Regions from separate parts of the Homo sapiens genome. Here all the other regions are linked to region 2. Evidence: promoter capture Hi-C in 16 types of primary human blood cells and fetal thymus (Javierre and others, 2016). All regions are on one chromosome and are shown on one strand. Each heading gives the region's core, a stretch centred on a gene start or on the middle of the fragment in contact. The rest is flanking DNA. Distances are from core to core; before and after follow the strand shown.

The links. Contacts are between HindIII fragments. The CHiCAGO score rates a contact against its expected background, and 5 or more counts as called.
Region 1: a fragment that was not itself captured here is called in contact with the fragment with the promoter of COX16 in region 2 in 1 of 17 cell types (erythroblasts); the score reaches 5.4 in erythroblasts.
Region 3: a contact is called between a fragment that was not itself captured here and the fragment with the promoter of COX16 in region 2, in 2 of 17 cell types (total B cells and naive B cells). The highest score is 6.6, in total B cells.

Annotation. Positions count from the first base shown.
Region 1 is chr14:70,088,609-70,091,863 of GRCh38, reverse strand. All of the region lies in intron 2 of SLC8A3 (solute carrier family 8 member A3), which reads left to right. Among named protein-coding and RNA genes, the nearest start is that of SLC8A3, 99 kb to the left of the region's middle. The HindIII fragment of the contact is 2,880 bases long and covers 228-3,107 here.
Region 2 is chr14:70,357,859-70,361,490 of GRCh38, reverse strand. It overlaps COX16 (cytochrome c oxidase assembly factor COX16), which reads left to right and starts at 1,808. Exons shown (of 4, transcript NM_016468.7): 1 at 1,808-1,972. The coding sequence starts at 1,904. All of the region lies in intron 3 of SYNJ2BP-COX16 (SYNJ2BP-COX16 readthrough), which reads left to right. It also overlaps the pseudogene RNU2-51P. RefSeq lists enhancers at 1,229-1,318, 1,779-2,088. The HindIII fragment of the contact is 4,146 bases long and covers 1-2,343 here.
Region 3 is chr14:70,819,943-70,823,710 of GRCh38, reverse strand. LOC124903341 (a long non-coding RNA gene) reads right to left here and starts at 1,838. Exons shown (of 2, transcript XR_007064246.1): 1 at 1,589-1,838. RefSeq lists a silencer at 1,719-1,918. The HindIII fragment of the contact is 2,143 bases long and covers 254-2,396 here.

The sequences.
Region 1 (3,255 bases), core at 418-2,917, 270 kb after region 2:
TAGTAATAAATGCAATTGTGAGGATGATGGTGAGATGAGCAAAATAATCCAGTTTGTAATTGTAGTTATCAGGCTGGCATATCCTGCAGGTCACACTTCTAAACATGACTTCGAAAAATCAAAGATCAGCTAAGTTTGAAGTAAGTATTGAAAGAGGGAGATTATGTTGCCTCAAGTTAAAATAGAACGTAAAAGATGGTGATTCAAATGATCAAAAGCACCAAGCTTCCCTGTTAGGATTCAAGGGAGGGGTGCGTGGCTCCGACACCAGATATCTGCAAAGCAATATGAAATGAGATCAATAGTAGACATTGAAAGATTGAAACTGATATAGGATATTCAAGTACCAGCTTCAAGAAAATGAAATGAGACCTAATAAAAGAGAGTAGGAGTCAAGGGGGTATACGATATTAAAGAAAGTGAAGAGCCAGGGTTTGTAGGAAGGAAGGGAGAAGAGGCAAAGAGAGCAGCTCTTTTAACACAGGAGCTTCCTCCTTTCCCATTCTCCCTCCTGCTAAAAGCCGAGTTTGTTTTAGCTGAAATGATTGTAAGACAAATTTTTGTTATTAAAAAAGGAGCTATTTTGTGTTGGTTTCCATTATAAAATCAGAGCTCTGCTGCCATAAAATTAAATCCCATAATAAAATGAGTAGAAAACGTGATGTCCTGCAGAAAGGAAGATGGCAGCCCACTCAGTGCCATGCTGGGCTTGACTATATACAAGCCGTGCATCTCCTGCTGCGAGTTGTAGCTGCTGCCCAGCAGTGCACATTATCGTTGCAGCTGTTTTCCTCACATTCTGAGGTTTATGAAATCCCTCATCCATCAATAATTGATCTTTAGCTCTTAGTCCAGGGGTTGTCAACTGGCACTCCATGGACCTTTAGAGGATTGATGGCTAGGTTTTCAAAGATCTTTGAACCCCCTGAAATTATATACAAAATATTGTGTGTGAGTATGTGCATTTTTCTGGTAAGAAGCACCTGAATTATCGAAGCAGTTTGTGATCCCCCAAAAAGCTAAGAACTACTTCCTAGAGCAAAGGGAGATTTTGCTACACTTAGAGATTTACACATTTGACCAGGGCAGCTCACACAAGTGGGATGCGGTTTCACATTTCATGGCAGATCTGCTTCCAGCTATACAAATTCATCAAGGAAATATTGTAATACTTCTATATGAATCAGGAATTCACTATATTTAACTTATTTGGAATAAGAACCACTATATATATACAAGTTTTTCCAAAAGACTGAAGGTTCTTCCTGTGGCAGGAAGGAATATGATTAGATTCATGAAGCGCCTTTATGTTTATATTTCAACTCTGAAAGATAATTGTGACTTTACTAAATCAAACCTGTATACCACGATTAGGAAAATGTGGACTGATTTGGGGTTCTAGGGGTAAAATGTGACCCCTGTGAAGTACCAATGCACCGTTCTTTTATCTGTGAACGGGCACTGAGCTTCTGAAATTAATTAGTAGGCAGGAGGACATGCGCATATGACGTGATAGTTTAAGTACTGATAATTATTCACTTGGAAGGGAAGAGAATAAAATTCAGAACACAGTATTCCTTAATGGGAAATCAACTTAGAGGAGGTAGGAGGGAGATCAAGCAAGAATATTTCTGGTAAAACATGCATAAATCAATGGTCAGCCAATGTGTTGATCAAAGAAATTATCTTTCGGGGAAAACAGTAGAAGGCAATTGAAAAACAAGCATCAGGCTGCATAAAAACAGCAAACAAAAGTCACAATGGCTTGATTGTGTGATGAGGTAATTAATGGCTGCAGTTAGCAAAATATGTTAAAAAAAAAGACAGAAAGGGTAGTTACAGGAGAAAAACATCCCCGCAGATCTTCAAAATCAGAAACAATGAAAATAATTATTTCAAAAATTAAGAAAAAAACTCTCTAATTTATACCTGAATTACCTGGATAATTGGTAAAATTTCCTGCGTATACAAATCTTGGTCCTCTGCTCCTCTCTCTATAAATAAATAGAAATGTATGAATCAATAGTCAGCCAATGTGTTGATCAAAGAAATTATCTTTTGGGGGAAAATTGGTAGAAGCCAATTAAAAAACAAGCATCATATTGCATGAAAACAGCAAACGGAAGTCACAATGGCTCGACGGTGTAATGAAGCCACACAATATGTATTAAACACATCATCTACACAGATGGATTCAAAGATACCTTCTTTGTGTCTAAGTCCCAAATCTGTGTTTCCTGGCTCTGTTCCCTCATATCTAGTCATTCTCCAAGTCAGCATGCCCAACTTGAAAGTGTCATTTTCAAAACCTGCTTCTTCTCTTCTGGAAGTTCTTCCTCTGCCCATTGCTCCACAATCCCCACCTCTTTCACCCAGTAGCAAACCTTAAATTTATCTTTTACTTTGTCTTACTTCCCCTTCTTATATTCAAAATGTTTCTCACTTGCATCTCTTTTCATTCATTTCATAAGCATTTATGAGCTCCTGTTATGGTTTGGAAACTGTTCTTCATGCTGGAGGTGGTCTTATAAACAAGTAATTTCAATTGAGTATTTAGTATGTTAAGTGCCATCCCAAAGGCAAACACCAGCTGTGGGAGGCTCCCCAAATCAGTCTAAGGAAGTTGGGAAAAGCATCTCAGAGAAGATGGTGTCTGAGATGGGGAGGATGTGTGGAACTGGGCAAGGAAGAGAACAAGTAACAACATTCTAGAAAAAGGCCTCTTTCAGCATGCTAAGAAGTTTGGAGGACAGAGGAGTTACCATTCAAAATTTGGAGGGAAGGAAGAGCATACTGAGGTTTGCCACTTGAACAGATAACTTCAGCTGTGTTGGGTGAGTGAAGTTGAGTGGGTACAAATCAGGTCAGGAATATAAGTTAGGAGACTGTTACTAGAATCCAGGCCAGAGGTGATGGTGGCCAATATATGAGAGTTTTAGCAGGGAATGAAAAAAAGAAAATGTGTTCATGAGGTAGAAGTAGGTAAAAAGAACAGGATCTGGTTCCTGATTGGAAATGGGGGTAGTCTGGAGAGGAAGCCAGAATGCAGGCAAGAATGCATAGTGGTACCATCCACTGACATAGGGATTAAAGGAGGAGAAGAAGCTTTGGTAAAGAAAATAAGAAGTTCAGCTATGGAATGTTTGAATTTGATTTCTCTGATGAGGAGTAGTTCTAGGTGATGATAATGCTCAGGGTGTAGACTTGAGAGTGGATGGGTAAAGTAAAGGTTGAGGCTATTAAAAGGGAAAAGGT
Region 2 (3,632 bases), core at 559-3,058:
GCTTCTAGGATCTTAGGGAAAGTAGGAGATGTGATACGCTTAACTAACCTGGATGCCACGTGAGATTTATTTATTTATTTTTGAAACAGGGTCTAGCTGTGTCACCCAGGCTGCAGTGCAGTGGCATGATCACGGCTCACTGTAGCCTGGACCTCCTGGGCTCAAGTGATCTTCCCACCTCAGCTTCCCAAGTAGCTGAGACCCCACCATGCCTGGCTAATTTATTATTATTATTATTATTTGTAAAGATGGGGTCTTGCTTTGTTGCTCAGGCTGGTCTCGAACTCCTGGGCTCAAATGATCCTCCTGCCTCAGCCTCCCAAACTGCAGGTATTACAGGCATGAGCCACCATGCCTGGTCTGCATGAATTTTGAAATATCAAAAGGAAGTAAATAAGATGGGAGAGATGCACCGTTCCTGGGTTTCTGGAGGTATTGAAATACAGGTTGATGTGTAGAGTGGTGGAGCAAACTCCTATTCCATCTCCTTGCTTCAAAAACCCATTTAACATATTTTCCTTGGATAGAGAATGTGTCAAATATTAAACTGTTAAGAACAGATACTACACTTGATCTTAGCCAAAAGGATAAGTTTCACTGGAGTAGCCTGCAGTAGATCTGGAGCTTCTCTTCTGGAGACCACTTAAGAGGCTACTTTAATAGGTGAAAAGATGATAAGGAATTAAAAAAAGGAACATTTCAGTGGTAACAGAGAGGCAGGGACAGATGGAAATATTTCAGGAATAGCATGGAAGATAATATTCCGCATCACCTGCACTCTGATTCACTCTGGTAAATGGGACACGTGGGGGATCGGCTTCCTAAGCTATCCCAGTACTTCACACATGTTTGTTTCTGTGCCCATGAAATCGCCAGTGTCTTTAAGGTAAGGATCATATATTTTTATCTGTGTTCCTAGAACCCTTTCAAAGACACGCTGAAAGGTGGCCTGTATGGTTGCTGAATCATTGGTAAATAGACATTCATAAATGACTAAAGATTACAGGTTATCTCACAGTAAAATCATTAGCATTAAAAGTTCAGTAATGACTGATGAGACACTACACTGATTACATTTCAACCTAATCTTTCAAAAGCGATTTATTTTTAAAAGTCTCCATTAAACTGGCAAATTCCTCATCCCACAAATAGCCATAAAGACTGGAGTACCAGCTTCAAAATACTTTTTTTTCTTTTTTCTTTTTGAGACGAAGTCTCGCTCTTGTTCCCCAGGCTGGAGTGCGATGGCGCGATCTCTGCTCATTGCAACCTCCGCCTCCCGGGTTCAAGCGATTCTCCTGCCTCGGCCCCCCAGTAGCTGGGATTACAGGCGCCTGCCACCACGCCCGGCTAATTTTTGTATTTTTTTTTTTTAATAGAGACGGGGTTTTACCATGTTGACCAGGCTGATCTAGAACTCCTGACCTCAGGTGATCTACCGGCCTCGGCCTCCCAAAGTGCTGGGATTACAGGCCACCCACCCAGGCCACCGCGCCCGGCCTCAAAATACTTTTTTCCTTAGCTGATTTTATCGAGTGGCTATGTGCCTAAGGGAGTGTTCTAAGCAGACGTTAGTTAGGACCCAGAACGTGGGAAGTACTGGTTTCCAGATCAATTTGGTGGTGATCGTAAACCGATTCAAATCTCTAAATCCCAATTGCACGCCGACGTTACGGAACCAAAAACGCTGACGCCCACATTTCTGGGCGGACGCACAAGTATGTTACGATGGCTCGATTGCTTTTGCCTAGCGGAAACCATTCACTAAGGACCGAGCACCAAATAACCAAGGAAAAGGAAGTGAGTTAAGGACGTACTCGTCTTGGTGAGAGCGTGAGCTGCTGAGATTTGGGAGTCTGCGCTAGGCCCGCTTGGAGTTCTGAGCCGATGGAAGAGTTCACTCATGTTTGCACCCGCGGTGATGCGTGCTTTTCGCAAGAACAAGACTCTCGGCTATGGAGTCCCCATGTTGGTGAGTGGAGTGAGGAGGATCTTCCGCAAGGGGTGGGACCCTCCTCCTTGGCAGGATCAAGACCTGGGAGGGAATCTGTAAAATGTGAAGTTAAGGGCTGGCACTCGGGCTAGGAAGGAGCTAGCGACGGGGTGAGAGCTTTCCTAAAAGCTCTTCCACCAGTCTTTTCCACACCCCCACTTCCCCGCCGCTGTCCCCCACTCCCGGTTGGATTTCAGGTGTACTAGGATCTGTCTGCTTGTGAGCGTGGCGTCTTTCCCATCGTCGAACGCGGTCATTGTTACTACCCTTGATTCACAGTTAAGTAAATTGAAGCTCAGAGAATTCAGTCAGAACCACACTTTAAGCCAAGTTTGGATGATTACTAAGCTTGCTTCCTCGCCCCCAACTTAGCTATGTTTTGACGATACTGTGGATCATTGGGACTAGATGTATTCCATTTAACTGCACGAATTCCTGGTATCTTTCTGTTTCATCTTTCTAGTTTGTGAATTAGCTTAATACTTAGAGTTGTGATGAACTAATAACACCTTGTGAATAAAGTGTTGAGTACGGTGCCTGCCACATTGTAGCCAGAATGATTGCTGTGTTATAATTTCTAAAGCACGTTGAAAACAGCTTCCGTGTTTATATGGTTTCATCCATATCCACACTGAGTTCCCTAAGGATGTCATGAAATGCAGGCTGAGGCTGGCTTAAGACAACCAGAGTTGAAATCCAGATGACTCTTATTTGCTTTTTGATTACGGGCCAGTTATTTTGCTTCAGCAAGCCTTGATGTGTTAGTAAATGAAATAATTAAAGCATATGAACAAAAGCTGCTTTTAAATACAGACTATATTTTTATTTTGTATGAATGTTGGCGCAGATGAAATTACCAGCTTTTCCATTTAAGCAGACTAAAGGAAAGAAGTGATCTTAGAAAGGTAATGGATATTTTACACAGTTTTGAAAAATCCACATTCATCAAATGTGGATTTTAGGAATCTCCAAAAGATTCACCCATTTGAAGTATCTGGGCCAAGCACGATGGCTCACACCTGTAATCCCAGTGTTAGGGGAAGCCAAGACAGGAGGATCGCTTTAGGTCAGGAGTTCCAAACCAGCAAGACCTCTGTCTCTCCAAAAAAAAAAAAAAAAAAAAAAATTGTTGTTTTTAGCAAATTCGATATTAGTATACTAATATATTCGTATATTAGTATATTCTTAGTTATGGAGCCATCACCACAATTTTAGAACATTTTCATTGCCCCCAAAAAAGCATCATAACTAATAGTAGTCACTTCCCATTTCTTCCTGCCTCTTAATGCTGGCCTGGTAAACCACTAATCTACTTCTACCCGTAAATTTGCTTATTCTGCACATTTCATATTAACACACTAATACAACGTGGGTTTTTTGTGACTGGATTCTTCCACTTAGAATGTTTTTAAGGTTCATTCACATTGTAACATATATCAATACTTCATTCCTTTTGATGGATATAATTCCATTGTTTGGATATATTTTATCAATTGATGAACATTTGGGTTGTTTCAATTTTTGACTATTATGAATAATGCTGCTATGAACATTTATGTACACGCTTTGTGTGGAAGTATGTTTTCATTTCTCTCAGGTAGGGAATATACCTAGACGTGGAATTGCTAGGTCATATGGT
Region 3 (3,768 bases), core at 76-2,575, 460 kb before region 2:
AGTCCTTGGGGACGCGGCACCCAGGACTGCTTCTCCTAGAATTCAAGATGCTTCTTTTCTTTCCTCCCTTTTAGGTTTCAAATCTCTATTTCAGGCAATACTTGATATATTATGTATTTATAATTCAAGTTTTCAGACTTTTCTTAGCAGCAGGTTATAAAAAGGAGAGAAGCAGAAGCTGAGACAGGGAGGAAGCAAACAGAATGGGGCAGAGGTGGGAGTGGGAGGCTGAAGGCTTCCAGGAAGATAAGCTTCCTCGACTGTTAGTGGATTCCGCATCTGCGGCAATTCTACCCCCATCCGGACTAGAGGCTTTGGGACTACTGAGAACCAGGACCACCTATTTTCACAGCAAATGCCTGGAAGGAACCCAGGTGTCACATGTTGAGGGTTTATCAGAATAAATGGCTGTTATTTTCTTTTCCTCTTCCCTTTCCTTCTCACCTACCCTTATTAGTGATCTAGTGTCATAGCTGCAGAGTGACAGCAGGGAGACAGGAGTGAGCGGAGAGTGTGGGACAGAGGGGAAGAAAGAGAAACAGGCCATACGCAGACCTACAGGCAGCTCCTGAGCTACCCAGATCGCTTCTCCTGTACAGGAAGAGCTGCTGGCCCGAGGGAAGGGAAGAGGGGGTCCCTGTTGGAGCAACTGGAGTGGCAGGAGGCGAGTGGGTCGAGGGAGAGTTATTAATATGCACTAGAACACATATTTACAACTGGTGGCTTAAATTAAGGGCAGCACATTCACACCTAGCTACTCCCAGGCTTCCCACAAAGACATCTGAAGCGTGCAAAGCGCGCTCCCTGAGCCCAGCCCACCAAGGGGCGCGGCCCGCCTTGGTAGGGACAAGGTCTCTGGCGCTGGCCTGAGCGGCTGCGGGAGTTCGCTCCTGGGAGAGCGCAGCGAAACCGAGGGCATCCTTCCCTGTAAGAGGAGGGGGCGGAGGAAGGGAGGAGGGGAGGAAGGAAGGAGGGGAGGAGGGGAGGAGGAGAGGAGGAGGGAAGAAGGAAAGTGGGGGTGAAGGGAAGGAGGAAAGGAGGCGGGGAGGGAGAGACGGAGGAAGAGAGGGTGGGAAGAAGGAAGGAGAGAGAGAGGGCGAAGAGGGGAGAGAGGGGCGAACGAGAGAGATGTGGGGAGAGGGGAGAGGAGAGGGACGGGGCAGGGGAGGGGAGAGCGAGGGAAGAGAGAAAAAGAGAGAACGCAAGGGGGTCGGGGAGAAGAGAGAGGAGAGCGAGAGAGAGCGGGAGGAGAGGGGGAGGGAGAGAGACGGGGGAGAGCGAGACAGAGCGTGGGGAGACGGGGAGAGGGGAGAGCGAGAGAGCCAGGGGAGACGAGGAGCGAGCGAGAGGAGAGGGGAAGAGAGAGAGAAGGGGGAAAGCAAGAGAGTGGGGGGAAAGCGAGAGAGAGAGAGGGGAGAGACAGAGGGCGGGGGAGAGCGAGCGCGAGCGAGGGGAGGGGAGAGAGAGAGGCGCGCGCTGGTTGCTCCCGCGAAACCCTAAGCTCCGCCAGCGCTATTGCCCCTCCCGCTGCCAGCCCCGCGTCCACGTGGGGAAACTGTCCCTCCTGTGCCGGGAAGAAACGACTCACCGCCTTGCAGAGGCGCGGAAGCTGTGCGCGGGACGCCACGGCCCCGAAGCCGCGAGTGACCGCAGCTCCGATCCCCCGGCGGGAGGCCTGCCCGAGCGTGGGAGCCGAGCCCAGGGCCCTTTCTCCGCACTGGCTGCGGACCTAACCCTTCCTGGGCCCCTCCTCCCCCTGGGGAGAGAACGTCAGCGCCGAGGATCCTGATGCGGGGGCGCGGTGGCGCCGACCGAGAGCCCGCCCGGTCCCCGTGTTGGGGGGCAGAAGGGGAGGGGTGGGCCGCAAGGGGCGGAGAGGGCCCGGCGTCCCAGCTGGGATGGAGTTACCAGAATGGGGTTCGAGGCAGCCTAACCCTCCGCGCTGAGTCCTGGAAGGCAGCCTCTGTATGTAGCTCGGTGCATTTTGCACGAAGATAGGCTGCTCCCGGCGGGGTAGGGGGTCGGGGAAAGGTCCTCCTGGGGGTAAACTGATCAGAGAGCCGATAATGGATTCTGGCTCCGACACACGCCACCCCTGCTTGCTTAGTGGCTCTGCACCCCACTTTTTATATAAAGTGGTTATTCAAAGTACCTAGCACATAGGTTTTTTGGTGAATATTGAATGGGAAGGGCAGGTGAAGTCCTTGGCACAGGCCCGGCACACCGACCGATGGACCCAAGAATGTCAATTATTTTTGCTGTTATTCCCTCCAACCTCAGCTGTCCTTTCTCAGAAGCAAAGCTAGGAGACACCAGAAGAGCCGGTGCGAAAGTTTGGCTTGTTTTAACATAAAACCCACACTCCCTAAGGAAGTGGATTCTGAGTGGGAAAAGCTTTGGAGTCAGAAGCAGGAACCCCTGATTGGGTCTTGGGCTTCTGTTCCTTAGTACTGTTCCTTAGTACTTAGCCACACTGAATAAACTCCCTGGGCTTCCGTTTCCTTATTAGTAAAATTGGCTAAAAAGTCCCAACCAGGTAGTACGATCCCTTCTGCCTTTATTGAGGGCTCACTATGTTCTAGGCACTGCTCTTAGGGCTGCCTCCGTATTATCTCAGTTAATCTCTAAGCTAGTTTAGGAGGTAGTTAGGATTATTTAAAATCTCCATTTTGCACTTGAAGAAACCAAGACTTAACAGAGAGGCTAAGTAAATTGTCCTAGACCACACAGTGAGTCATGGCAGAACTGGACAGAACTGAGATTCAACTCAGGCAACCTGGTTCCAGAGTCTGTATTTTTTTTTTAATAGACAAGGTCTTACTCCCTCTCCCAGGCTGAAGTGCAGTGGCGCAGTGGTGCCATAGCTCACTGTAACCTTGAATTCCTGGTAGCTGGGACCACAGGTGTGCACCACTATATCTGGCAAAGTTTTTAATTTTTTGTAGAGACAGGGAGGGACTCACTTTGTGGCCCAGGTTGGTCTTGAACTTCTGTCCTCAAGTGATCCTCCGGTTTTGCCTCCCAAAGCATTGGGATTATAGGCATGGGTCACTGTGCCTGGCCTCAGAGTCTGTATGTACTCTTAGTCAGTATACTGGCACCTGTCTGTAAAAGTGTTTTCTGAACTCTAAAATAGTATATAAATGTTGGCTGTGATTACAGTGAGTGGTACAGTTGGTAGGTCGGTGGCTTCGTCTTCGTATACTAATGGAGGGTATGTCTATCAGTGCCCAACCTACTGCCTAGTACTCAATAAGCTGTCAGTCACTCTGCCATCCCTTGCCCACATCCCAGGAAGGAGTGTACCCATGCAAAAGAATGGCAATTCCATCATGTACAGAGCTGGGGAAGAGGGCAGACTATAAGATAACGAAGAGACATCATGAAGCTGCAAGCAATTGCACCTGACCTGGGTATCAACAAAACCCCAGGAAGCAAAGATGGGAAGGCTTCAGGTTGGAATCTCCCCTACTTTTCATAAAACACAAAGCACAAGAGAGTTTCCCTGATGTTCCACCGGCCAAGCAGGCTTCTCTCTGGGGCTCCCACTGACTTCACAAAGGGCTCCATCCAGTAACCCAGAGAACAGGCAACTGTCTTAAAGGTCTCATCAGTGTCAGGAGACTCATGTCTCATGTCTGTGAGCAAAAGATTCACAGCCTTCAACTAGGAAAGGAATAGCCACTTAAAAGGTCTCCTTGAGTAGAAATCTGGAAAACCACGTTAAAGGAGAAAGTATTTTATTATTTGAGTCTGAATGTTTTCTAA